4 separate regions of the Homo sapiens genome follow, and regions 1, 3 and 4 are each linked to region 2. Evidence: promoter capture Hi-C in 16 types of primary human blood cells and fetal thymus (Javierre and others, 2016). All regions are on one chromosome and are shown on one strand. The core of a region is centred on a gene start or on the middle of the fragment in contact, and the rest is flanking DNA. Distances in the headings are between cores, read along the strand shown.

Region 1 (6,903 bases), core at 729-3,228, 2.5 Mb after region 2:
AGAAGTTAGTTTGACTCTTTTTTATTATGACAATAACAAGCTTTAAAAATGCTACGTGATTTTCTTAAAGCCACTTAACCATAACAGAAGATAATTTTAGGTACCTTCTCACCAGTTTTAATTTCATACTGGCTTTTAGAACTGTAGTAAGAAAATTATAAAAAAGAAAAGAGTCAGATATAATGAACACAGCACTGTTCTGATTAATTCAGGATACTTTAGCGTTATTTTCTCACCAGCAACTTTTAAAAGAATATAGATAATCCCTGATTTATAACTTACTGCAACTTTTTGGTGTAAACTTTGGTCTAAAGCTGTGTTTCAACAGTTGATGTTATGTGTACCCTTTTTTCATCTGCAATTTCTGTGCAGTACTGCCTCTGCAATGAACACTTTAATTTACTTGAATCTCACAAAATATTTTCCAATATAAAATCGCTACAAAAATATTTACTAGTTTTTTATAGTGATTTCTGTGAATTTATGTCTAAACCTAATGACATTATTTAAAAAATTTACAACTATGATTTTGCATCCAGAATTACTAAATTATCTAAACAGCATCTAGATTTATTAGACCAAAAAATAAATTGCATTAGATCTGCATAAATACAACAATACAAAAAAGTCACAAATTCAACCACCAAAGCTGTAACTTTTATTTGCCAATAGATATTTTAATAAACAGGCTTACTCCATCTGTAAGACCCTGATAATGCCTCTTAGGAAATCATAGAAAAATAAAATACAATAATTAGTAATTTGTACCTTGTACAAAAATCTTATTATGTTGCTCAGCAGGTAGTTTGCTAAACAGCATATTCTTTCAGCAAATAGATGACATATGTTATGCAATTCACCACAAACAACCCCTCATATTGAGAGCTGAGCATTCTATAACACTATTAACTTGTAAGCATGCCAGCACATGAAAATTTACATGGAAAGTTATTAATATTATAGTAGATTTTTGTAAGATAAAAATAGTACCACCTTCAAATAAGTCTGGACTACTTCACTGCTATAGTAAAGTAGATAATAGGTAGGATTGCAGTTCAATTGTTAACACCTTTTTACCTTGTTTATAGCTCTACCATATTGTGATTATAACCAGAAAAGAGAATGTAGGCTGTGTCAGGAACCTGAGTGGAAGGCATATATTGAAGCTTTAAATGGTGACAGAATACTAAAGAGAAAAACATAAAACAGTGCTATACTTCCCTATTCTCATAGATAAATCTTTTTCCCCTTTTGTAAGAGCAGATGGGTACAGAGTTAAATCCTTAATTAATAATAAATAGCTTCATGACAAGTTACAATGATGCTTTAAAAATCATATTTGTACTTATAGGGAGGGAAATTATTTTTAGCTGTCGTTTTTTATTAGTCAAATATAGCTCTATGAGGGATTAAATATCTCAACCTAGACATGTTATCTAGGTATTTTATATAAATATGCTATTTAGTTTGCATATACTTCAGGATTTGTGCTACAAAGATTTTATAACATTTTGAGTGCACTGCAATTGTTGATATCATCTACCATTTAAAATTTGATGCGGCCATTTAAAATTTAAAGTGTTTAATCAAATACATATGTATATGTACATCTATATCTTTATATTTTTGGCTATGCTAGAACAGCAAAAAATGGAGAGCAATCTCCATTATTCACAATCTAATTTCACATCAAATCCAAATAATAATGCATCTTTAAATTCCAACATATTGAATTACATACAACCTAGAGAGATATATATACACACATACACACATACATATGTATATATACATATGGTATATATACATATATATAATATATATATATATATCTCCAGAAACAAAGCACCAAGCACAATTAAAAGATCACATTCTTCCTATAGGATAGAGGGGCACAATGAACAACCAACCATATTGCCCATGTGTTTTCCGTAAATGACAGAAGGCATTGTTTTCCTATATGAAAACAAAATAATTTTTACTAAAAGATTAGTTCCTGTTTGTCTTTTATTTTAAAATTTACATGGGACCTCAATACCCTCCCAAATCGTGTTTGAAAAAAGTGACAGGTTGATTATGCAATATACATCTTTCAGGATTAAGCTAATTTTAAGTTTGATAGGCTTTGCATTATAACAGATTAGCTACAAAATGTTTCTGCCTTTTAATCTGTAATAGATGAAAATAAGGAAAACAGTATTTATGGCATTGAGAAGTTCTCAATCTCTACATTATGGAAAGGACTCTTACCAGAGTCCTTGGAAACCACAGAATTCAAAGTTTCGGGTCTTCCAATAAGATGTCTCAAAAATATTTAGTAAAGATGCCTTTAAAATATTTCATCAAATATATATTCACTTTCCTACTATCCAACTACTTACATATGTCTCTTCCAACCTATACGTCCTTCCCATCCTGCATATTGGCTTTTATCTCATTCTTGGTAAAATTAAAAAAAAACTTACGTAGTGACATCCTTCCCTTTCTACCACAAATATACCAACCTATTTGCACATTACACATTCTGCCTTCCTTTCATTGGAGTTCTATATTCCGGCACCTATCAAAAATTAACCTCCCTACTTATGCTTTAAATCGCAACCCCTCTATCTCTCAAGGCCTTTGTTACAATTATCATCTCTCTTGCATAATCAGTTTTCCCCTGTCTGCCAAGTCATTTTCATTAGTAGATAAATATGCTGTAGCATCCTTAAAAAACAAGACAATTCCTTGACTTCCTTTCTCCAGCTATTATCCTATTTCTCTTGCTCCCTTTACATCAAAGCTTTTTGAGAGAGTTGTTTATAGATAGTGATTTCACCTCCTTCCTTTACATCTCGCCTTAATCCATGTCAGTTGGGATTTGACTCCACTATTTCATAGTTGATAGTTGACTCCACTATTTTCATAGTTGATGACCTTGTGAAGGTCATCAACAACAACAACTTCCATGTTGCTAATTCCCATGGACATGTCTTTGTTCTAATCTTGACTTCTTAAAAGCATTTAATCCAGATGAGCAACTGCATTTCCTTTTTCTCTAGCTTACTTTATACTCCATTTCTTCTGTTTAATTCTAATTATCTGCCTATTAAACATTGGAATAGCATATAGTGCAATCCTAGGCCTACCTCCACAGGCTTTTCCTAGGTGATTTCCAAACTTTAAATAGCATATATATACTGATGCCTTCCAAATCTTGAAGTAGTGAATCCACCACGTTTTTGCTGGAATTACTCCAGTAGCCTCATGCGTATACCTTCTCCTCTTTTTGCCTCATTTCAGTGTACCAAGAACACTGTTCTCTACTCTCCAACACTCCAAATTTTCATTCATTAACTATCCCCCTCTGCTTGTAATTTCATTCATTAAATTTTCCCTCTGCTTGTAATGCTCTTCCCCCATATCTTCTCATGGATGCTTCCTTCATGCTTTTCAGATATCAGTTTAAATGGCATGTCCTTGGGGGAAGATTTCCTCTACCGCTTAAAGGAGCCACAGTCATGCTATGTAACATTTTTAATTATAAGCACAGCACATCACTATTTCTTCATTGTGTGTCTTTATCACTAGAAGGTCAATTCCATGAGACAGGGACTTTGCTTGTCTTGGTCACCATGTATCCTCAGTGCTTCGAACAGGACAATGGTACATGGTAGTGTTCAATAAACAGTTGAATGGAGTGAATGGACTTACAGATAAATATATTTTAAAGGTATGTCAGTATATGTATATATATGAAAATTTAGGAATTATACAATTTTGGACCAGTAAGGAGACATGATCTCCTTTAATTTGTTGTTGCTACGGTTATATTTGTTATATAGTTTAAAGAGGTAAACACTAAGCTTTGACTGATATTTTTGATTGTTATATTATAGATACCTTATTATTGCATTTAATGGTAGAGTGATCAAGGTTGTAAGGTAGGGAAAACGATTATTTTGTTTTCTCAAAGGTTTTTGGAAACTCTGAAGAAAATAAGCAGATTACACGTAAATGGAGTAGCTTTTCACTCTTGTTTGAAGTATCCTACTTGGTAAGATTTTACAAACTGAATAAGCAGTAAGTAGTGAGAAGTAACTATAAAAAATATATGTTCTTTTTTTGAATTTATAACATCCAGTGGAGAATTTTCATTTTGTATTTCCATTCATGAGAAGAGTTTGCTTTCTCTAGCAAATTTTAGGGGATATCAGACTAATATTAAATAAAAGAAGAATAACTTCAAAAAGAATAACTTCTAGCCACTGTGCTATGACACTTGGTTTCAACTTATTTGAGAGTTGGAAACTTTCAAGCATAATGAGACTGAATGGAAATATAAAAAATACAATGGCTCTTTTTTAAAATACTTAAAACAACTGGAAAGAGAAGGCAATCTTCTTGAAAGAATGTAAGCATTTAGAGATCAAAACATATTATATCACATAAAATTAATATGTAAGTACTATGTTTTTAAGCATTTAAGAGTATGTGTAAAATTAATATAACTGCTTAACAAGATAAATTGATGCTAAAAGACGGTATCAAGTAAGTTCCTTTTTTATGCATCTTTATATATACTATTTTTATATTTAATGATGGCTGGAAAAAAATCTCTTTATTATCCATGGGATAATTTATTAATATGTTTAAAGTGCTATGGCAGTCCAATATTCAATGTATTATTATTTGAATTTTTTGGCAAATTCTTTGATTATATATGTCTTGGAAAACAAAGGATTAATAATATGGAAATGTTAAGAATTTTGATGACTTGTTCCATTACAAAACATTTTTAAAATGAACTTTTTCCTATTTTTGATATTTTGATGACATTTCTTTCTAATTGTATGTATCAATACATATTTTAACAACTATTAGTGTACTCATTTATATTAGAGATTCCCATCCTTGAAATGCACTTTAGTTTCAAAATTACCAGTAAGAGTACTGTGACATACTTTTTATTCACTCTTTTCTAACAGTTTTTAAAATGAGGTAAGTAACAATTTTAAAACAAACTCCTCTTTGTACTGTATTACCTTTTAGTGTTTTCCTTAATTTTAGTGGAACTTAGTCTGTTGCCATGTTCTGCATTCTTGCTTTGCCTCTGATTTTTTTAAAAAATGAGGTTACTATAGCACGTATACCATAATTAACATTTTAAGAAACAAAGACTGTTAAAAATTATTCCTTCAAAATTCAAAATTAAACTGTCAAAGTTTTCACTGTACACAAAATTAAAAATAAGTATGATTATGTAAAATATCCCAAAGATATTTATATCCTGTATATATTCAATGTTTTTCAATGTCACAATCCAAGGTGGAATGTGACTAACAAAATGAATAATAATGTATCCAAAATCAAGCACACACCATAATCTTTACATCAAATGTTACTCATGTTCATATTTGTTAACACTGCTCAGATATTGTGTCCTGCTCGCTCCCCAAAATGCTCCCATTTCACATTTTGATTTTTTTTACTCTAAGAGGCCTAAAAACCATAAAATTTTATCAAAGCTACATTTTTTTGGTAAGAATAAAATGATATTTTTGCATAGTATGAATATATTAATACATTTTTCTTTGAAGACATATCTAGCATGGGAAGAAAGAGTACATTAAAATAAATTCCAAACTTCAATGACAAACATTTATACACATTAAACCTTACTTTCCATGCAGAGCAGCAATTTTGAAAAGCTCCAATCATTGTTTATTAACTATGTATGATATTCAGCATTGTCTTAAAGATACTTTGAGGTTATTGCAGTAATAGCTCTTGATAATATACCAATGGATATTTAAACAAGTTAAATTTAACAATGAGCATATCAATCACATTGACAGAAAAAAATAGCTTGTTCAGTTACAAGTTTGTTAGCAAGTTATTGGCCATTGATTTTTGTTATAGAGCTTCTAAAGGCTACAATTTTGAGCAGACTTATTCTGAAGACAAAAACAATATGGTAATAAATAAAGCATGCACAGTCAAAGAAAAACTTCCTCATGACTTTAATAATTATATTACTGGGTAGATGAGAATTCTAAAGATAGCAAAAGTTACTACTTTGAAAAATAAACTAATATGAAGAATTATATTATGGCTTCTCTAAGTGAATGAAGATGTGTTTAAATGTAAATTTAACAAAAGCAATTTCTATCTAAATGCATACAGTTCATCCTACAAATTACTAAAGGTAGGAAAGAGATTTTTAATTATAAAAGCAGTGGAAGAGGACATTTTACTTACGGTAAAAATCTTAAAAGTGTAGTGTTTGCCTATCTTTACAAATTAGCATTCTTCTCCCTATCATGATTTTGAAAAATTAAATGATATTGAGTCTTTATAGAACAGAGCCAAATTAAGACTGTTCTAAGGATGAGCTACAAATGTGGAAAAACTTGTAGAGAAATGTTCACATCAATTTGCTTCTCATGTAAGCTCATATTGAACTCATGAAACAAAGATATCTATCCTCAGTTACTAATACCTAAATATACAAATTGAATGGAATATATGAAAAATGATTCTTATATCCTTGGAATTTTTTCTATAATAATGTATTATTTTGGGATAAAGATAGTTCTCACTTCAGCGAGGGATAATGAGATGGAGACCCTGTTACTAACTAAATAGGAATCCTGAATTAGAGTTGTCCTCCTTTTATTATTTTGTAGAGCACCCTATCTATACTTGTATCTCAGTTGTTCTGATTTGTTGAGATTATAACTTATTATCTAACCAGAAATGAGTTTATTATGACAAATTAAAAATGGCCAGAGGTCACAAATAATGCAGAAAATACAAGTAAGAACAGTTTTACTTAAGGGAAGATTTTCACTAATTCTGATACTTTTCTAGTTTACAACTCCTGAGAAGATTGTGTTGTTAATTTATACCTTATTTTTT
Region 2 (6,391 bases), core at 1,910-4,409:
CATTCTATAACCCATTCACCAAGCACTCTAAGAACAGAGCCTTTACTGAACCTCTGGCTCCCAATCCCAAAGTCTTCCTATTCAAATCCTCTTCTGGGGGGCTGATGAGAGTGCCAGGATAAAAAGGAGAAAGATTAGAAGAGGATGGAGGGAAAACAGAAATCACCGACCATGTTAGGGTTCCTCCATTCATGAAAATGAAACCAGCAAAAATACAAAGACACACCAAAGATACATCAATCCTACAAGAGAAAAAATGCTGTCTCTAGTAAACATTCACTCCATGTCCTCTGCCCATGTGAACCAGAGATTCTCACAATCCCTCTAACCTAAGAACTCCCCAGAGGCACCTTAACTGTGGAAACATTTCCCCTCATGGCACTCTATGAGCTGGTTACCGCCAGTTTATGACACAATTCACCGTTCCAAAACAGCAAACTTCAGGCTATAACCAGCTAGGTCACTTTCTGAAAAGTGTTGTAATGTCTGTCACTGATTCTTAAAAGGTGCATTTAATTAGTTAAAAACTTTTTTACTATTTTTCCAGATCTATTTTTCTTTTTTCTCTTGCCATTCTTGCAGGATACCAGAAGCAAAAAGACGTATTTTTCTGCAACTTCTCTCCAACCAGGTAGTTCTCATTCTTACTCTCAAAACAAATTAGTTGTCTTGTCTATGCCCTTGCTTATGCTGTTACTGTCAGGCCTCTGAGCCCAAGCCAAGCCATCGCATCCCCTGTGACTTGCACGTATACGCCCAGATGGCCTGAAGTAACTGAAGAATCACAAAAGAAGTGAATATGCCCTGCCCCGCCTTAACTGATGACATTCTACCAGAAAAGAAGTGTAAATGGCCGGTCCTTGCCTTAACTGATGACATTACCTTGTGAAAGTCCTTTTCCTGGCTCATCCTGGCTCAAAAAGCTCCCCCACTGAGCACCTTGGGACACCCACTCTGCCCGCCAGAGAACAACTCCCCTTCGACTGTAATTTTCCTTTATCTACCCAAATCCTATAAAACGGCCCCGCCCTTATCTCCCTTCGCTGACTCTCTTTTCGGACTCAGCCCGCCTGCACCCAGGTGATTAAAAGCTTTATTGCTCACACAAAGTCTGTTTGGTGGTCTCTTCACACGGACGCGCATGAAAGTTACTCCATTCAGAGGCCTTTCCCATCTCTTAATCTGATTCTGCACTAATATGTTAGCTCCAAGCCATGTGTGGATATTTAATATCTGAAATGTGGCTAGACCAAATTGAAATATAAGGTAGCTGTAAAATGCACATTGGATTTTGAAGACTTGGCACAAAAAAGATGTACAATTATCTAATTTTTTAAACAATGATTACATGTTGAAATATGTTAAATAGATTATTAAAACTGATTTCACCTGTTTCTTTTTAGTGTTTTTTTTTTTTTTTTTTTTTTGAGACCGAGCCTCACACTGCCGCCGGGCTGGACAGTAGTGGCTCGATCTCGGCTCACTGCAACCTCTGCCTCCCGGGTTCAAGCGATTCTCCTGCCTCAGCCTCCCAAGCAGCTGAGATTACAGGCACGCGCCACCACGCCCGGCTAATTTTTATATTCTTAGTAGAGACGGGGTTTCACCATGTTGGTCAGGCTGGTCTGGAACTCCTGACTTCAAGTGATCCGCCCGCCTCGGCCTCCCAAAGTGCTGGGATTACAGGCGTGAGCCACCGCGCCCAGCCTTCTTTTCAGTTTTAAATGCTGCTACTACATAATTTTAAATTACAATATGTGGCTTCTATTAGACAGCCCTGGGGCTTAAATCCTACTTATTCTTCAAAGCCTAGTTGAAACACTGCTGCTTTCATGAAGCTTTCCCCCAGTGACTCCAACTGCCCCAGCCCCCACCGCCAACCTCTCGTAACACTTTGAATCACACTCACAAAGAATAAGATTAATTTTACCTTGTTACACCTTCCCAACTCCAACATAAGCAAGTTGAAGAAAAAAAAACTATATCTAGATCACCATGAAGTTTTCCTCTGACACCTTGGAGAGCCCAGCGCTACGGTAATGTTTGATGTCTGCTAATGGAGAGCTGAATTTCTTAATTACTAATTATCTATCCCTTTCAACGATTTCCATTTTTTTCCTCTGGGATTAAAGTCGATGTCTATCAATGTCCTGTATTATTTTTAAAGTGCCCATGAGCTGTACACATACAATATAACGAACAAGCAAATCCAAAACTAATACATGTGGTCAATACACTTAGATCAACTGTAAAATTTAGACAAGCCTCTAAAGGTCCCTTTTTAAAAAATGATGTTGTACAACCTAACAGTGTATCGTGAGATCAACTATTTCAAAAGTAGAAGCCTTTCCCAAAGATTAACACTGGGTGAGCAGTTTACCAAAAAATTATTGGCGGTCTTCCCCCACAATCCCGAGTATAAATCAGGTAAGCATGCAACAGCTTGGGTGCAGTAAGAGCAAAGTCCCACACTGCATCCAAAGCTCAGAAATCGAGCTGTGAGAAATGTGGTAGTAGGGGAAAAGATGACTTGCGTGAAGGAGACGAACGATGAAAACTGTTGGAATGCAAAACGAGATAACAGCCAGAATAAAAAAAAGTATACCAACTAAGTGGGAGGGATTCTCCTCGGGTCAACCTCTGAACCCTCAGGCGAAGGTCGCAGTGGTCATTTCAAAACGTCTTTTCTTCACATTGTATTTTAGTGACTCAGATCTGCATCCAACAAACTTCCTTCTTCAGCCTACTCCAACTCCCACAGCCAGGACTCCGGCCAAACCCAGCCCTGAAGCCACCCACTCCAGCACACTTTGGAGACTGACAGACGACACAGGAGGACCGTTCTGAGGCCCAGCACCTGGATGACACCCCTCTCCTTGGGAGTCCCGCCCCAGTCCCTTGGGCAGAACCAGGCAGGCAGGGGGCACCCAGCTGGCAGAGGGGTAGGGCAGGGCACCGGACTTCGCCTAGGACCGGCCTCTCCGTTCCATGCCGACGCCAGACGGCTCCTCGGGGACCGGCAAGATGGTGAGAAGGAAGAATAAAGGGGCATTGGAAATTAGCCCCGGCTTTCACTCACCAGCCGTCGCCGCTCGACGTTGGCAGCGGCGGCACATCTTCTCCTTCCGCCATTGCTGTTGACGTCCACGTCACTTTGCCGAAAAGTGGATCCGGCGCTGAGACCAACTCCGAGACTCAATGTCGTAAAAGGTCTTCGGAAGTCCAGCACTGAGCTTCCCCAGAGGGGAAGAAAGAGGGAGGTGGCAAGGGACTGGAGGAACGCAACGTCACGGCGTCCCGAGGCCGAAAGGCAGCGTCTTGGGGGAGGAGACTTGGTGGAGGCAGCTGCCCCTCCAAAGACTACATGTCCCAAGATGCCACGGTGCCGCGGGCGGGGCGGGGCGCGGTGGACGCCGTCCCAGTTGGAGGCCTTGTGTGACAAACAGCGTGTCTTTTTAGCGTCCACTTAGCGTCTTCATTCCAGCTTGGCGTCGAAATTAACAAAGTTAGAATTTACAGTCCTAACTATTGGAGAAAGCAAGGGAAATGGGAATTGACATAGGGAAGGCGGACGTAGGAGAAGAGCCACAGTTCAGTAATTTCCTGCTGTAGCAATTTAATTTGAAGAAAGAGTGGGACGTAAGGAAAGGGGCAGACCACCCCTATTTGTGAGGCCCCGTCAAAAGTGTAAATGAAGGCCCACATACTTTTTGACTGAATATTTAAAAGTTGTAAATGAAGCTATATACTAAAGGAGATACGTTCTAGCCTCCTACCTTAAATATATCTTCCTAACAGTCTGGAAGATCAAGTCCGAATTTAGAATTCTAGGACTGGAATTCCAGGCAAGCAGAGCTGCCAAAATCCTTCTCTACGCGTTCCACTTCCCCTTTACACCGCATGGGCGGACACTTGGCCACCGCCGGGGCCTTGGGGTGAGCACACGCTCAGGAGGATGGACCTAAAGAAACGCTTTTGCAAGCCCTGAAAACAACAGTGATGAAGTAGAACTGCATGTAACAATATGGATACATCTGAAAAATACGCTGTTAAATGAGCAAAACAGATTGCAGACGGATAGGTAAAGTATGGTATCATTTATAGTTGGTGTTTAAAAGACAATATATTTAAAATAGATCCATATGAGTTTAAAATGCAGGAGAATGATATATAGAAAACTCGGAATGGCAGTTACATTCAGGGAAAGGGAGGAGTTTCCATGAATTTTTAAATATTTATTAAGGGCCCCAAGGTGGCCACATAGGTGGCCAGTGTTCTTTATAGAGTCTATACTTAGGTATCTAAAATGTTTCATAGTTTCAAAAACTATTTGTTTTAAATAGATACAAAACAGTACAGCTATCTCATTTACAACCAAAAACATGTTCACTCTCTTCCCTAAAGGGAAATAATACAGATCTGCATGGTACTGCACCCACTTCCAAGGCCCGGATCTCTGTAATGTTCAGTTCTCTGTTAGGGAACATTTCTTTTAACATAGAATGAGACTGTAGATGCCCTCTATCAAAAAGAATAAAAGACGTGAATCTAGGTCACATTACCATTCTAATATTCAGGACCTCCCCTGGGTCCCTTCAATTGTTGCCAGTAGATTTTCAGAAACTTTTCAGAAAATGGTTTTAAAACCTATTCAGTCATTGACATGAGAAGCAGTTGCTCACTGGTTAAGAAGATTCTAGTCCTCAATTATGATTCATTTTGAGTATAATTAAATCAGCAACTGCTTTATAGTCTCTGGTAAAATATTTTCCCATTAAAAATATGTCACTTGACATTTTTAAACAGTTCTTTATTCTGTCAAAATAAAGTGGAAAGTTCTGACTTCTATGTTCTTTAATGGAGCCAGAGCCAGCTTCATGGGCATGTAGTCTATGCAATAGCATGAGACCACATGCTTAGAAGAACTCTGTGCTTGATTTCATGCTCTGGTGTTGCCATCTTGAAATTCTTAATAATTTGGGAACAAGGAGCCACTGGTTTTAATTTTGCACTAGGCCTCACAAATTAGGGAGCCAGTTCTAGATAGGGTCAATATCTTAGTGATGTATAACCCATTGGGGACAAGATTTCAACCAAAATTGTTTAGCGATAGTGTCTTCTAGCGGATTTTTTTTTTTTTTTTTTTTTTTTGAGACAGAATCTCACTCTCACCCAGGCTGGAGTACAGTGGCATGATCTCAGTTCACTGCAACCTCTGCTTCCTAAGTTCAAGTGATTCTCCCGTCTCAGCCTCCCAAGTAGCCAGGACCACAGGCGTGTGCCACCACGGCCGGCTGATTTTTGTATTTTTAGTAGAGACGGGGTTTTGCCATGTTGGCCAAACCATTTTTCTTTATTATTATTTTATTTTTATTTTTCTGAGACAGGGCCTCACTCCCTCAAGTAGAATTTGTTAAATTCTAATAATGGACCTCTGCTTAAAACAAAACAAAAATGCTTTTCAAGAACTAGAGAAGATTTCATTATGAAATCTTGGAGTGCGTCCCCTGCTTGCATTTGTGCATCTAATTGTAGTTCCCACATCCAAATGGGAAGGTGTATTATTTCATATTATCCTTGGATAAAATCAAAGCGTATTTCTTATAACAAGAAAATTAAAATGTCTTAGTTTTAAATTAAATTATAGAGAACATAAAAAGATTTTTCATTTATTATTTGGTGTTCTGAGCCATATAATTATGTAATTTATACTGTATTACATGTACTTAATTTGTACCATGCCTATGACACATAGTAGAATCTCCATAAATATTTGTAAAATGAACTAGGGAATTTTTTGTAGTACTTTTGTAATGGATTAAGCTATTCACCTATATAGAAATGGCTGGTTGGGTTCAGGGACAGGTAAGGATTATGAACTCATCTGCATAGTCATAGTTGTTATGTGAGTAGAATTTAATTCAGTTTTCATTGTAATATTATTTTAGCATTTGTTAAAAAGAGATGGAGAAATAACATAGCTCTTGATCATTTATTCCATATTCGTGCAGCCTTTTCTTGACTTTCGTGCATTCTTAGATAAAGACAAAGACCTAGTAAGATGTTTTAATCTACTGCTGCACAACAAATTACCCCAAAACTCAATGTCTTAAAGCAATAAACACTTAACTCATAATTTCTGTGCATCAGGAATCTAGAAGCAGCTTAGCTAGATGTTCTGGCTTAGGGTCTCTTGAGGTCAGAGGCAAGATGTTGGCCAGGGTTGCAGTCATGCAGTCATCTAAAGGCTTCAGTGGGGCTGGAGGATCCAGTTCCGTGGTGGCTCACTCACATGCCTGATGAGTTGGTGTTGACTGTTAGCAGGAGGCCTCAGATACTCCCCAAATGAGCCTCTCCATGGGCTGCTTGAACATCCTCTTGACATAGTGGC
Region 3 (6,072 bases), core at 766-3,265, 2.3 Mb after region 2:
ATGACACTCGGCTTGTACAAATCAGCATTGTGTAGCCACACAGCCCATAAGAAAGCCATGGGAGAACCCGGACCACCAACTCCCTAAACTTGCACCGCTGGTATTCCTCTTCAGGCCTGCTTCTCTATTCATAAAAGGAACGGAGTTGCACCAAAACGCTCTCTCAAATCCTCTCCTGCCGCCCCAAGTTAAAAGAAAAAAAAGGAGAGCCGGGTGGGTGGCTCACACCTATAATCCAGCACTTTGGGAGGCCGAGGCAGGAGGATCGCTTGAGCCCGGGAGGTAAAGGTTGCAGTGAGCCAAGATCGCTACCACTGCACTCCAGCCTGGGCGAGAGTGAGACCTTGTCTCACATACCATAAAAAAAAAAAAAAAAAAAAAAAAAAAAAAAAAAAGAGGAAAAAAAAGGCCATTTATTTCCTTCCATATGGACTAAAGAAACGCCCGGGCGTGAACGCGGAACACCGCCGGGTAGCCAGGCCTCCGGGCTGCCACCACTTGCGGGCCGGCGTGGCGGGGCGGGGCGGGGGCTGGAGCACGGCCCGGAGCGTGCCCACGCTGCCCCGCCTCCAGCCGCTGCGCCGCAACGCAGTGGGCTCGCGGCCGCGAGCAACAGGCCGTGCCGGGTGAGTGGGGCGCTCTCGTGGGCATCCCAGCGCCGGGGCAGGCCGGGTAGTGCCCGATCCCGCGGGGCGCGCGCTGCTGCTTTAGGCACCCGGGCTCGGGTGCGGGTCTGGGAGACCTGTCGGTCGGCGAGAAGCCTCGGTGGCCGGCGCTGTGGTTGCGGGACCTGGGACGCGCTCCCAGGCGTCCCACCTCCCCGGAGACTGGGGCAGGGTGGGTGGGGCCCGGATCTAGGGGTAGGGTCGCGGAAGCCTTGGTTACAGAGAGTCGCACACGTGGCCTGCTAATGGTCGCGACACCGGTGACGAGCGCACGGAAAGTTTGGAGGCTTAGCAAGGAGGGTGGTGCCGGCCTCCGCCCGGTGGTGGCAGAACTGCCTGTGCGAGCACGGCTTCCACGTGGGCTGCGCCGCCGGGCGTCATGTCGGGCCTAAGAGACACGCTCTACAGCTGTGAAATCTGAAGTTCAGGTGTGTGGGGAGAAGGGCAGCTGCATTACATCATATGCTTCCAATTCATTTACCAGCAAATAATTCCGCAACGATTGGCCGACAGCTGGGTTGTCCAACAGGTTACTGAGACCAGGTTATTCACTGTTTTCAGGAAGGATAGACTGGGAGGAAGAGGATCTGATTTCGCCACTCATTAGCTGTAAATCTGGTGCCTCGGGTTTCATGTCACTGGGCTCATCTTTGAGCAGAGGAACCTGATTTACTCAGCTTCTTCTGCTGGTACTGGTTTTTGCCTCCTGGACATCAAGCTTTGTAACCTCATGGTCACGAAAATACATTGAGGTATAGTCCGTTTCCTCTCTAAAATCAGACTAAAAAGATAACTGCTGATCACTCCTTTAGGTCAATAGGAGAACCAGTTTTCCCTCTGGATTGATTAACATATCTCTGAGCCAAAAAGAAATGTTTTAGATCAGTCTGGGCAACCTTGTTACAAGCAATATATAATTTCTGACAGCCGTGTGTTTAACTGAGCTGCGTTTGACTGTTGTCCTCCATTAGTGGACCTAAAATTCATCTAGAGAGCGTATTACGTTAATGCAGATTATGGGCCTCAGCCATCAGAAGTGGCAATCCAGTGGGCTTGATGAGGGCCCAGAAATTTGCATGCTAACAACCTTGCTGGTAACTCTGAACTACATTCTGTAAAACTGCCCAGGGGATGTAGAAATTCATACTTCCCTCCCCGATTTAGTAATAACTACTGATGTCTAAAGTGCCTTTTAGCTTTTACGATACTCTTGAATCCTGAAGTGACAGCTGCAATCAGAAAAATAATCCCCTCTGCACAGGCCATCTGTTTTTTCCGTAACTGTTTTGTGTAAGGCCTTTGTGGTTTGTCTCCAAAATTGTATACAGACAAAAGATGAAAATGTGAAAAATTCAGCAGACATTTCTTGAGGACCTCCTATGTACCACACCGTGCTTGTTTCCGGGGATATACAAATCCTTTCCTTCAAGAGCTTCCTCACGTCTTCATGTCCTCAAATATTATAGAAAAGGAGGTTAGGGTACCTTTAAAATATAGTGACTGTCTGTCTGTTGCCTATAGTATGGTTGTCAACATTGATTTTCTTATAGGGTTTATCTGTGGGGTAGTCACCAAAGTATGAACTGTAAATCTTTTAGTCTTTTTACATTTAATGCTTATAGTCAACTCAAATGGAAAACAATTGCTCTTCAAAAACTTTTCTGTGATTTTACAGAAATATTTACTCCTATTGGGGTGGTCTCTAAGGCTTATGGGCAAGGTTGTGTTGGCTGTACTATTCTAGACAAAGCATTGTCTTCTTTAATTACTATAGTATTGGATTCTAAGATATGTGTTTTACTTCTTGCTGTTTCCGAAATTATGATATGTACCTTAAGACTTTTGTATGTTTAATGTGGTAGGATGCTTCATCTATTCTCCCCTCTGCTCTAGAAAGCTGTTAAGAGGAATGGTTGTCTTACAGTATGAGTAGTGTGAGAATCAGAGAAATAATGTATTTGCCCAGAAACCTCTAAGCTTAGGCTCCAATTAACTGAGCCTCAAATCATTTCAACATGAACACAGAGAAACAAATGATGTAACTTTTGGCAGTATGGGTAGTGAAATTTATATTCTAAGGAAAGCATTTGTTATACAGTATTGGGGTTTGTTAGTGATTGTAGATGGGAAAGATTCTTTTAAGTGATTTTATTTTGGCTTAAGTGTTTTGCATTCTTTGATTAGCCACACTTTCTGGTGAATGTGCTTATACTGTATTCATATATTATGCTTAAAGAAAAGCTTTTCGTTTGCATCTTCCTCCTGCTCTCTCCCCTTAAATGAATTTTAAACTGACCAATTGTGAGAGATAAGAGATGTGTGGCTGAATATAAAATGACTCTATAGGGTGCCTTTAGTAATACAAACCTAATAAACCAATCTAAGTTTTTAAAAATTAAACGTGAGCAATGTGCTGTGGTCCCCAAGGCCATCTTTAGTTCAGCAATTTGCTAGGAGGACTCGGCTGATTTATTACAGGGAAAAGATATCAAGCACAGTCAGCAAAGGGAAGAGGCACATGGGTGAAGTTCTGGGGATACCAAGTGCAAGGCTCCAAGGGTCTTCGAGCGGTCACACTGGCTGTGCTCAGTTGCTCCAGCAACTAGTTGTGTCAACACTTGTGAAATGTTGCCAACCTGCGAAGCTTGTTAGAGACTCAGTGCCCAGGGCTTTTACTGGGGGCTTTTCACTTAGGCCACCCCTGCCTGGCACATACCAACGTTTCCAGACTCCCAGAGGAAAGCAGGTGTTGGTATAAACTGTAATGATTGTACATTTTAGGCATGGTGAGCCACTCCTATCAGTTAATGGTGGTGGAAACTCTCCCAAAATCTTAAGTTCTCAGACATCGGCCACAAGCTGCACTTTCAAAGGATAGCAGTCAGGCCTGCTATGGAACGTCTTCTGCATAAGCAGTACCCCTTCCCGAATCCATTTTTCTATCTCTTTGTATTTCTCCATCACTTGAGAGTTCCATGTACTAGCAATGCTGTGCCTTCCTGAAGCCTTAATTCTTTCCTGGAGAATTCAAGCTGGTCTGTTTCACTTAAAGGAAACATTTTCAGAAAATGTGTCTTACTGACCACATATCCTAAACACTAAAGTTTATTTTTTTTTTCTAAGCTTCAAGCTTTACCCCTCTCCTGTAGTATCAGTTTGTGTTAGTCTTCCACCATGTCCTGTGTTTCCTTATCAAAAGCACCTGGTCTTTTGAAGGAATGGAGCTGTTTAGAGGGTTTTATATTTTGACATTTCCTTTCTTAATTTGTTCAGTTTACATCTGGGTTTCAATCTAAAGTTTCTTTTATAAGTTGCAACACGTCACACAGTATGCAACACATCGTTCCAGGATGCTTACTTCCCAGGCCAGAACATTAATTCCACTTAGTCTACAGTGTAGCTGAAATACTGCTTAGTTATAATGACAAAAGAACAGAAAACAGTATTCTTGCAATTCTGATAACTCACCAAAGTAGGAAACTATACCATTTATAAATAACAAGTCTTTCAGAAATTTTGGTTTTTATAAGTACAGTGGTTCTTAACCTTGTCAGGAGATAGGGACTTCCTTAAGAATCTGTTGAAAGTGATGGAGTCCCTTCCCAGAGGGAAAGGACTTTAAGATAGAATTTTGCAGTCTCAGGAAATTTAAATAATTTGAATTACAGTTCTTGGAAACAGATGAGGGAAACCTACCCTCTAAGTATCAATAGTTGTGGTTTGGAGGCAGTTCTGAAGGAGCTTTGCAAGGCTTGGCTGTGTGGCTTCGACTACTCAGCAGTGTCAGCAGCAGAAGCATCACCTGGGAGCCTGTTAGAAATGCAGAACCTCAGGCTTCACCTTGGAGCTAGTGGATCATATCCTGCATTTTATTGAGATGCTAAGGTGATCTGTGTGCACATTAAAGTTGGAGAAGTGCTGTGTTAGGGGCTAATGATATTGGTATTATTTAAAATCTTCAGTTAAAAAGTTATAGTTTTTTCAAGGCTTTAGATATAACTACTTTTAGCCTTCACTTTTCAGCCTTTAGGGGCTTTATTTCTTTAAACGAAGGGGAGTTTCTGATAAAAGTGGCCGTTTTCAGGAATAAGCTCAGAGTTGGAAGTGAGCAGGTTCAGGTGGTTAGTGGAGACAGGAGAAGGCAGTGGCCTGCTCCAGCCACCAGGAGACACCGCGGGTCCAGGGCGCATTGATTGACCTGCGCAACAGTTGGGGTGGTGCTGCGGTGAGGAGCACCTGGCAGTGGGCGGCTGTTAGTTTTTCTCTAGTCAAATGTTTGTAACTCAGAGTACATCTAATTAGATGTGGGCCCTGATGCTGATGGGAGCCAAATCCAAGATATTTGACTTTGCTGTGTCAGTGGCCACAGGCTAAACCTGTGAGTAGGAACTGCTGAGACAGTTGAATAGGTTTATTTGGGATAATTATACTGCCTAATAAATAATACCATGACATAGTGCTTGTGTAAAAGAAAAACACGTTCTTCTTTAGATGAATATGTCATCTGAGTGGTGGTTGAGCTTGAATCATATCTTAGAAGAAATGGCATTGGCTTAAGGCTGTCTCCTATCCTGGGGGAAGTAGCTTTGACCTATGAAGAGTTCTCACGAAGGTGTAATGGTCATTCAGTTGTGTGTGCGCGCGATCCACTAACACCAATGCTGGCACTCCTTGTAAACCTAACCATGTGTGTTTTGTTCTTTTGGTAGGTTTGCATTTCCTTACTGCTTTGTCTTGAAGACAGAACGATGCCAAAGAAAGCAAAGCCTACAGGGAGTGGGAAGGAAGAGGGGCCGGCTCCCTGTAAGCAGATGAAGTTAGAAGCAGCTGGGGGGCCTTCAGCTTTAAACTTTGACAGTCCCAGTAGTCTCTTTGAAAGTTTAATCTCGCCCATCAAGACAGAGACTTTTTTCAAGGAATTCTGGGAGCAGAAGCCCCTTCTCATTCAGAGAGATGACCCTGCACTGGCCACATACTATGGGTCCCTGTTCAAGCTAACAGATCTGAAGAGTCTGTGCAGCCGGGGGATGTACTATGGAAGAGATGTGAATGTCTGCCGGTGTGTCAATGGGAAGAAGAAGGTTTTAAATAAAGATGGCAAAGCACACTTTCTTCAGCTGAGAAAAGATTTTGATCAGAAAAGGGCAACGATTCAGTTTCACCAACCTCAGAGATTTAAGGTAACCAGTTTCCCCATTGCAGAATCCTCATACATTTTAAAGTACTAACATTTGGCCACATATCAGCTCAAGGGTGAATACGTAGTTTGATGATGGTTAGTCTCTTGCCAGTTTGAGAAGGGGTAGCACCTCTTTGGTCTAAATGCATTCTAACTAGGATTAAGATTATGTGTTATGTTTGGTTGGACTGTTAGAAACTCCAGCAACTCAGGGTAGACATTGTTGGG
Region 4 (6,703 bases), core at 3,957-6,456, 2.4 Mb after region 2:
AAGTACCCAGCCCAGAAGTAAGTGCACAGTCAGCCCTTGATAAATACTGTTCTCACCTTACCATCTCTCTTCACAGTTACAAACATTGCACAGAACTCATTTTAAACAGGTCCATCATGCATGATACAGCCAAGAAACAAAGTTGAGCAATCATTTCTTGAAGCAGATAAAGGCAGGAATTCCTCCAAGTTTCATATTTCAGCAATATCTGTATAACAGGCTTTTGCAAAAATTCTCTGAGCCTTAAATCTAGAGCCAAACATTTTGTCTAGAGACCTTTATAACCCAGTTCCAACCTAAATTTCTTACTGCTCCTTTCACTCTGTCCCATTAATGTATATATCCCCTAACAGATCATAAACCCCTTGCAGGCCTTTGCTCAGTCTGGAATGCCTTTTCCCGGAATACCTGTTCCCTATTCTCTCTCTTCCTAAGTTCTCTTTGTATAGAAACATCACCAATTCCTTGAAGACCCAGTTAAAATCATCCCTACCAGGAAGCACTTCCTGGTCTCCCCTATCACTTCTAATGAGTCCATTCCTTGTATGCTTATAAACTGGGCTTAACACTGCACCAGTGATTCTCAAACTGGGATCCACAGAACTCTGGGAGTTTTTGAGTTTCCTATGAAAACTTCAATTGCAGTTTTCCTTTTTATCATCTAAAATAAATTAATATAAGCATTTCCTGGAAATGGTCAACCACCTAATATGAGTACAATCAAGCAATTTGAGTGCCTACGCCTAAGTTGGGATATACAATAGTGTTGATGCTAATAGGCCTTCTTTAATTGTGACAAAGAAAGAATACATAATGAAGTGTTGTCACCAACTGAAGCCCATATAAATCACAGCACACCATAAAAACAAAGATTTTCCTATGGTTCAAAACAGTAAAATATTGGAAGACCTGTATCAAGGCATGGCAGCTCCCCAAAGACCTGGTGTTTGTCCCAGTACGCATTTTGTGAGCAGGCAAAAAAACAGTTTCAGGATGTTGTAAATTCGACTTTTACGGGTCTCATAATTATGTTTTAGTTTATTTTTTAATTTTGTACTCCTCTTCATCTAAAATCATCACTACAGAAGGTATACCCAGCTCTCATAATGATAAAAGTTTTTATGCCCACAAAGAGAAATAGCCAAAATACTCTTTCATTTTGAAATAAGATCACAGTGACAAATTGCAATTCTGTTTCCAATCTTGTTAACATCAGGGTGTTGTGTTACTGGGACATTCAGTACTATAAAGCGGTTCCATTTGTTTTATTAAACTTTCAATAAAGGCTTTGTGTTTGTTTATGCCCTTGAAATGAAAGATTTAAGCTCATTTAAAACAGTAAAACACCCACATAAAGGGTCATCTGCTATCCCCCTAACATCTGGCAAGTTCCAAAAAAGATGAGAACAAAATTAGCGTTGATATAAGCACAATTAAAATCTTCATCGTTGAAAAGCCATAATTTGTGCCAATCTGGAGATGATGAGAATAGAGAAGTGGTAGGTGAACAAGGAACTAGTTGCTGGAGGGGTCAGCTCCAGTCAGTAAAGAAATTAGAATTGAGAAGTGCCTTAAAAAGCCAAAATAGGGCAGAGAGGCAAGCAGGATTTCAGGCCATTACTGACATGAGCCTGAATTTGACCTGCTTACTCCTTTCTAACACTGACTCTCAAGTTCCCAACTTTTGCTGCGCCTACTTGGGATTTCCTTGCAGACTGCGTTCATATTATCCAAGACTGTTAGTGCTGTTACGGCGGTGGCAGGCACCACAGGCTGTCTGCCCACACCAACAGAACTAGCTGACACCCTGGATGAGATCTGTCAGACTTAAAAACTATTTTTAACTTCTGTGTAACTTTGAATTTTAAACTCTCAACAGTCAGAGCAATAATAGCTGAAACGTCCCAGGAGAATAACCACTCAATTATCGTAGGAGCTTTCTTGGAAACATGTGGCATGTTATTAACAGACGGTCATAATGAAAATGTTTCACAAGCGGGGAAACCGAGGAACACACAAACGACTAAAATCACATCACAAAATCTGAATACTAATGGAATTGGCTCACTCTCAGTTCTGTTTCCTATCCATTTTTTTTAAGCCCACCAGGAAATCTTGAGTCCGAAGTAAACACGGTTTTCTGGAGTGTGTCCTTCCAATGACAATGGTCATTCTAGTGCAATCTCGGGAGAAGACAGTGTAAGCCTCTCATAAGTTTAAGAAAGCGAGCTGCGTTTTACTTAACCCCTCTTTCTTCGGGGGGATGAAAAGACTCAGAAACAGGCATTTAAATGAGGCATGTCTAAAATTTTTTGATTTTTGAACATGGGAAAGTGAAGGAAAGATAAAAATATTACAGAGAAAGGGTACATTTTGATTACTGAAACCAAGACAGCTGGAAACCTGATTTCCAGAATCTGTTTGGGAACTTGAGGCAGATGTTTCTAGGAGAGATGAGAAATAAAGAAGGGTGGCGTCATTTACATGTCCAGTCCATTTTGGTGAAAGTCTTGGGAACGCATTATCACAATTCCTTTTAAAAATCATTTTGAGAAAATTTAAATAAGATGGCAAAAATACCAGCTGAGGGGGTGACGCCCCAAAGCTTTACCTTTTCCACTTTTGCCCCGATCTCCTCCCACACAAGTGGTGCTGGGATCGCGCCCCCAATTCCCCTGGCCGACGGCTCCGCTCGGCTCACAAGTGTTTCCCATTACTGCAGGCGGGACGCCGGGGAAATCGCTTTTGCCACAGAACTTGGAGAGTAGAGCGTGTGTGGAACGGGAACCCAATCACGTCCGGGCAGGGGAAAGTGGGAAAGGAAGAGCGCGGAGCCAGGCGGGGATCGGGGGATATGCGTCCGGCTGCCGGGCAAGAACTTCACCCCGATTTAACCTGCAGAGGAGAGGCGAGTAGTGCGGCACGGGAACGGGGCAAGGAGGAGGAAACTTTAGCAATGGAGGAAGGAGAACAGAAAGTGGCGAGCGAACTGCAGCCTGGCCCAAGAGCGGCCCGCTGCCGGCGGTCAGGCCGGGAGCCTTCATCCCGCGAATATGTGCAGGGCCCCCCCGCGACCCCCTCCTCGACTCCCACCTGGCAGCGGACCGGCCTGGAGCTGGAGGCGGGCTCGTCCCCGGCCTCTCCTCCTCTTCCTCTTCCTTGTCCCGGGAAGGACTTCGGGGAGCGAAGAACCGGGAGAAGCTGTGCCAGGGGGCGCTGCCCCTTCTGCGGCCGCTGGACATTTCCCGAGGGGGCCGCTGGCCCGGGGCTGTCTGAAGGGAACGGCCTAGGTGTTGCCTGGTGCCCGGAGCCCGACCGGGCGCCGCGGGATGCGGCTAGGGCAGACCGACTCGACGCGAGCTGCCAGCGCGGCTCAGTCTCTCTCGGGCAGGAGAAGTGCGGACGCGACGCGCTCCTCGCGCGGCAGCTCCTCACGCCGCTGCGGCTGCTCCTCCTCCCGCCCTCGCCCGGCGCGGCCCGCCCCACCCCGAGGAGGAGCCAGTGGCCGCGGCACCGCCCTGAGCCGGGCGCAGCCGCCACCGCTGGGGCGCTACGTGGTCCCCCGAAGGCGCCGGCCTGAGAGCCTGAGGGGAGTCGCCCAGCGTGCGACGCTAGGCTCGGGCTTACGGCTCAAACAAGTTCAGGCTGCAGCCTGTTGGGCTTTGCCTTCAATTACTTTCTGTGACCGTTGTGTTTTCTATTCTACAGTCAGAGCACAGAAACGGTTTTCTTCGGGCTTTTGAAAGAGGTTTATGAACTAAGGTTTGTGAAAACACTTGGCAAACTGCAGTACCGGGGCGCCCCGGACTTGCTGGGAGCTAAGAAACAGCTACCGCAAATACAGCTCCAACCCTGAGGGCGAAAGTCGCGTTAGCACAGAACCGGGCGGCGGGAGGGAGAAGGGGGTACCTGTCAGGCGGTCACCACCTCCCGGCGCGTTCTGCTGGCTTTCTGTGGTGTGACTTTTCCTAACCGCGCTGTGCTTCAGACTTTTCACACGCCATACTTCCCTGCGAACTCTTTCAAAAACGGCACTGATCAAAAAGTATGATTTCAAGCTTGTCAATGCTGCAACATATTTTGCAGTCGTTACACAGATGCCACTGAAATCTGGGAACCAAAGGGTGCTTAAGACTTGTTTTAAGTCTAAGTACAGTGGTATGGATTTTTCTTGGTTTTTCATACCCTATAGCAGCTAGTACAGGAGATACTGAGAGGCCCATTCACCCCAAGTGTTTTGTTTTTGTTTGAAGGCAAGCTGCCCCTGGAGTAGACGTCAAGGAAGTGATATGGCTTTTGTTCATTAAAAAATGTATACAAGTAAATGAGATAAAAATGAAATGTCCACAGCAGAGGGGAGCCTTGGAGTAATCTCCCCTCTGGCTTTCGGGTGCTGGAGGAGAAGGTTGCTCATAAGTAGATTGCATACCTATAAGCCCCAAGTCCTTTCAGCACCTGCTGGAGGCTATTGAGCCTCCCTGCCTCCCCACGCTGCCTCCCAGAAGCCCTCCAGCTCCTACTAACTGCAATAGAGCCAAGACACTCATTCTCATTTGTTCTGGCAGGATTTAACCCATTAAAGTTCAGTCAGCCCGATTTCCATCAATCGGGTTCATCTCAGTCTATCCCTCAAGATTAATCCTTTTTTACTCTTTGGTAAATTTTTCCTATTTCTCTGTGAGCCTAGTCTGAGAAAATAGAAAAAGACTAAGATAATAGACTAGAATAAGACAAGTTCCCAATTCTAGCTTTATTATTTTATAAGAGAATCTCCACTGAAGACCCACTTACCAAAAAGCCCAAAGAGAGTAATAAAGCAAACTGTTTCTTCCAGCTAAAAGGCCCAAATGATAATTTGTCTTCCCAACGTATTATTGAATGACTATCACATTTGTCCCTGACTTGTTCTGTGATCAAACCAGGCCCCAGTGCCTACCCAGAGGGTACTTCGTTCAGGAAGTTTTTCTTGGAATAAAAATGGGGGGGAGTCAATAGGATTTAATTAATGAATTATGGTTTTAACTAATAATATATCTAACAATACTCTGATCTCCACTCGGTAGCACAGCAAAGCACTTAAGTGAATGGTAAATACAAATAATGCCATGTTTACACTAAGACAAATTGCGTCTATGACAAAATAGCTTAAAGTCATAAAACAATGACCATTGAATTTTCCTTCATTTGCTTTCTGAGCACTTATTAGTTTTCTATATGTCCTACATTGTTATAACCTGAACTCATATGAACAAATTTCTAAATACTAAATTCTAAGATTGCATTAGGAAGCCTGTAAAAATGTCAAATTTTAGAGCTGTAAGGATCTTAGAGATACTAATTTAGCACAGTGTCATTAATTCACTGATCCAGTTATTCCCCGACGTTTAGTGAGTGCCTGCAGTAGAAGCACATCTACAGTGAAGCCGATGAGGCTCAAGTTTCTTGGCTCCCTGCTGGCACAGTCTCTTCCAGTGTGAACTCAGCAATGGGATCCATGGCCAGTTTTATCAAATTTACAAAAGTAAATGTTTTAATGTGATTAAGACCACAATCTCTTTTTTTTTCCACTTAGATGTCCACTTAGATTTTCTTTTCCACTTAGAGTTATCAAGAGCATTTGGGAATCTGCTAGGGAATTTCAGTTGGGAATATATTTAGTTTGGACTTAGTGGAATATATTTATGTGGTTTCCAGCCTCTCCAAAGTATAGTTATTTCTTAAATTCCAATTTGTTTGTAGCGCAGCTCACCAAGTATTACACCCAAGATGCAGAGCCAGAGGAGATATATTCTGTGGTCTCTGACACTGAAAATATGTGGGTAATAGAGGTGAGACAAGATTTGAAAGGTAAAGCAGCATCAGGTGTCATGTGGAAAATTATTCCAGGCATCAGAAGACAAAGTTTCAACAGGAAGGATTGCCTCCGATTGATGTAATTTCTCTCATAGCAATAATATATTCAATAATGCAGTATATTTAATTTTTTTTTTGAGACAGAGTCTGGCGCTGTCACCTTGGCTGGGGTGCAGTGGTGCAATTTCAACTCACTGAAACCTCCGCCTCCTGGGTTCAAGCAATTCTCCTGTCTCAGCCTCCAGAGTGGCTGGGACTACAGGCGCCCACCACCATGCCCAGCTAATTTTTGTATTTTCAGTAGAGACGGGGTTTGACCATATTGGTCAGGCTGGTCTCGAACTCCTGACCTCAGGTAATCCACCCGTCTCAGCCACCCAAAATAATTTTTATAACTGTAAACACAAAACATTTTTTCTTGTTGATGTAAACCATGTAAAATAGAATTTATCAGAATTCTTGTTTGTAGGGTACAAACCTGTAGCAGTACCACAAGCTTTGTGTGTGTGTGTGTAGTACTGCATGTTTACACAGCCTTTCTATCAATAAGAAAAACAGAACTAGAGGAAAGATTGCATTATCTTTTCATTATTATGGAAAATAATATTACTAAATTATTGTCATATGAAAGGCTATTGAAGAGTACACTGCCAAAAATATAGGAAAAAAAGTGATTGTGCAAGGCATTTAGTAAGAAAACAAATTGTTTTTCTAGTCAACCTTTTAAAATTAGTAATTTGCATGGTTTATGTTTTCATTCAATATATTCATTTTTATATCTAATTTTCTTTTAAATCCTTTTTCTTTAAAGAGGACCCTCCAAATTGTAAAAACTTCAGATCCCACAAAA

Evidence for each region. Contacts are between HindIII fragments. The CHiCAGO score rates a contact against its expected background, and 5 or more counts as called.
Region 1: a contact is called between a fragment that was not itself captured here and the fragment with the promoter of TBC1D23 in region 2, in 1 of 17 cell types (non-activated CD4 T cells). The highest score is 9.6, in non-activated CD4 T cells.
Region 3: a fragment that was not itself captured here is called in contact with the fragment with the promoter of TBC1D23 in region 2 in 1 of 17 cell types (non-activated CD4 T cells); the score reaches 6.3 in non-activated CD4 T cells.
Region 4: a contact is called between a fragment that was not itself captured here and the fragment with the promoter of TBC1D23 in region 2, in 1 of 17 cell types (non-activated CD4 T cells). The highest score is 5.3, in non-activated CD4 T cells.

What each region holds. Positions count from the first base shown.
Region 1 is chr3:97,755,265-97,762,167 of GRCh38, reverse strand. It overlaps EPHA6 (EPH receptor A6), which reads right to left. Exons shown (of 18, transcript NM_001080448.3): 18 at 636-6,903. It overlaps LOC124906256 (a long non-coding RNA gene), which reads left to right and starts at 3,951. Exons shown (of 5, transcript XR_007095973.1): 1 at 3,951-4,039. The HindIII fragment of the contact is 1,619 bases long and covers 1,169-2,787 here.
Region 2 is chr3:100,257,760-100,264,150 of GRCh38, reverse strand. It overlaps TBC1D23 (TBC1 domain family member 23), which reads right to left and starts at 3,159. Exons shown (of 19, transcript NM_001199198.3): 1 at 3,080-3,159. The coding sequence starts at 3,132. RefSeq lists enhancers at 412-1,080, 2,418-3,086, 2,862-3,351, 3,087-3,755. The HindIII fragment of the contact is 5,201 bases long and covers 1,841-6,391 here.
Region 3 is chr3:97,966,935-97,973,006 of GRCh38, reverse strand. RIOX2 (ribosomal oxygenase 2) reads left to right here and starts at 576. Exons shown (of 10, transcript NM_153182.4): 1 at 576-626; 2 at 5,375-5,845. The coding sequence starts at 5,414. It overlaps LOC124909398 (a long non-coding RNA gene), which reads right to left and starts at 354. Exons shown (of 2, transcript XR_007095976.1): 1 at 1-354. RefSeq lists a silencer at 392-831 and an enhancer at 1,102-1,361. The HindIII fragment of the contact is 1,259 bases long and covers 1,386-2,644 here.
Region 4 is chr3:97,818,746-97,825,448 of GRCh38, reverse strand. LOC101929298 (a long non-coding RNA gene) reads left to right here and starts at 3,673. Exons shown (of 3, transcript XR_427389.3): 1 at 3,673-3,762. CRYBG3 (crystallin beta-gamma domain containing 3) reads right to left here and starts at 3,438. Exons shown (of 22, transcript NM_153605.4): 1 at 3,094-3,438. The coding sequence starts at 3,242. RefSeq lists a silencer at 3,292-3,661. The HindIII fragment of the contact is 2,291 bases long and covers 4,061-6,351 here.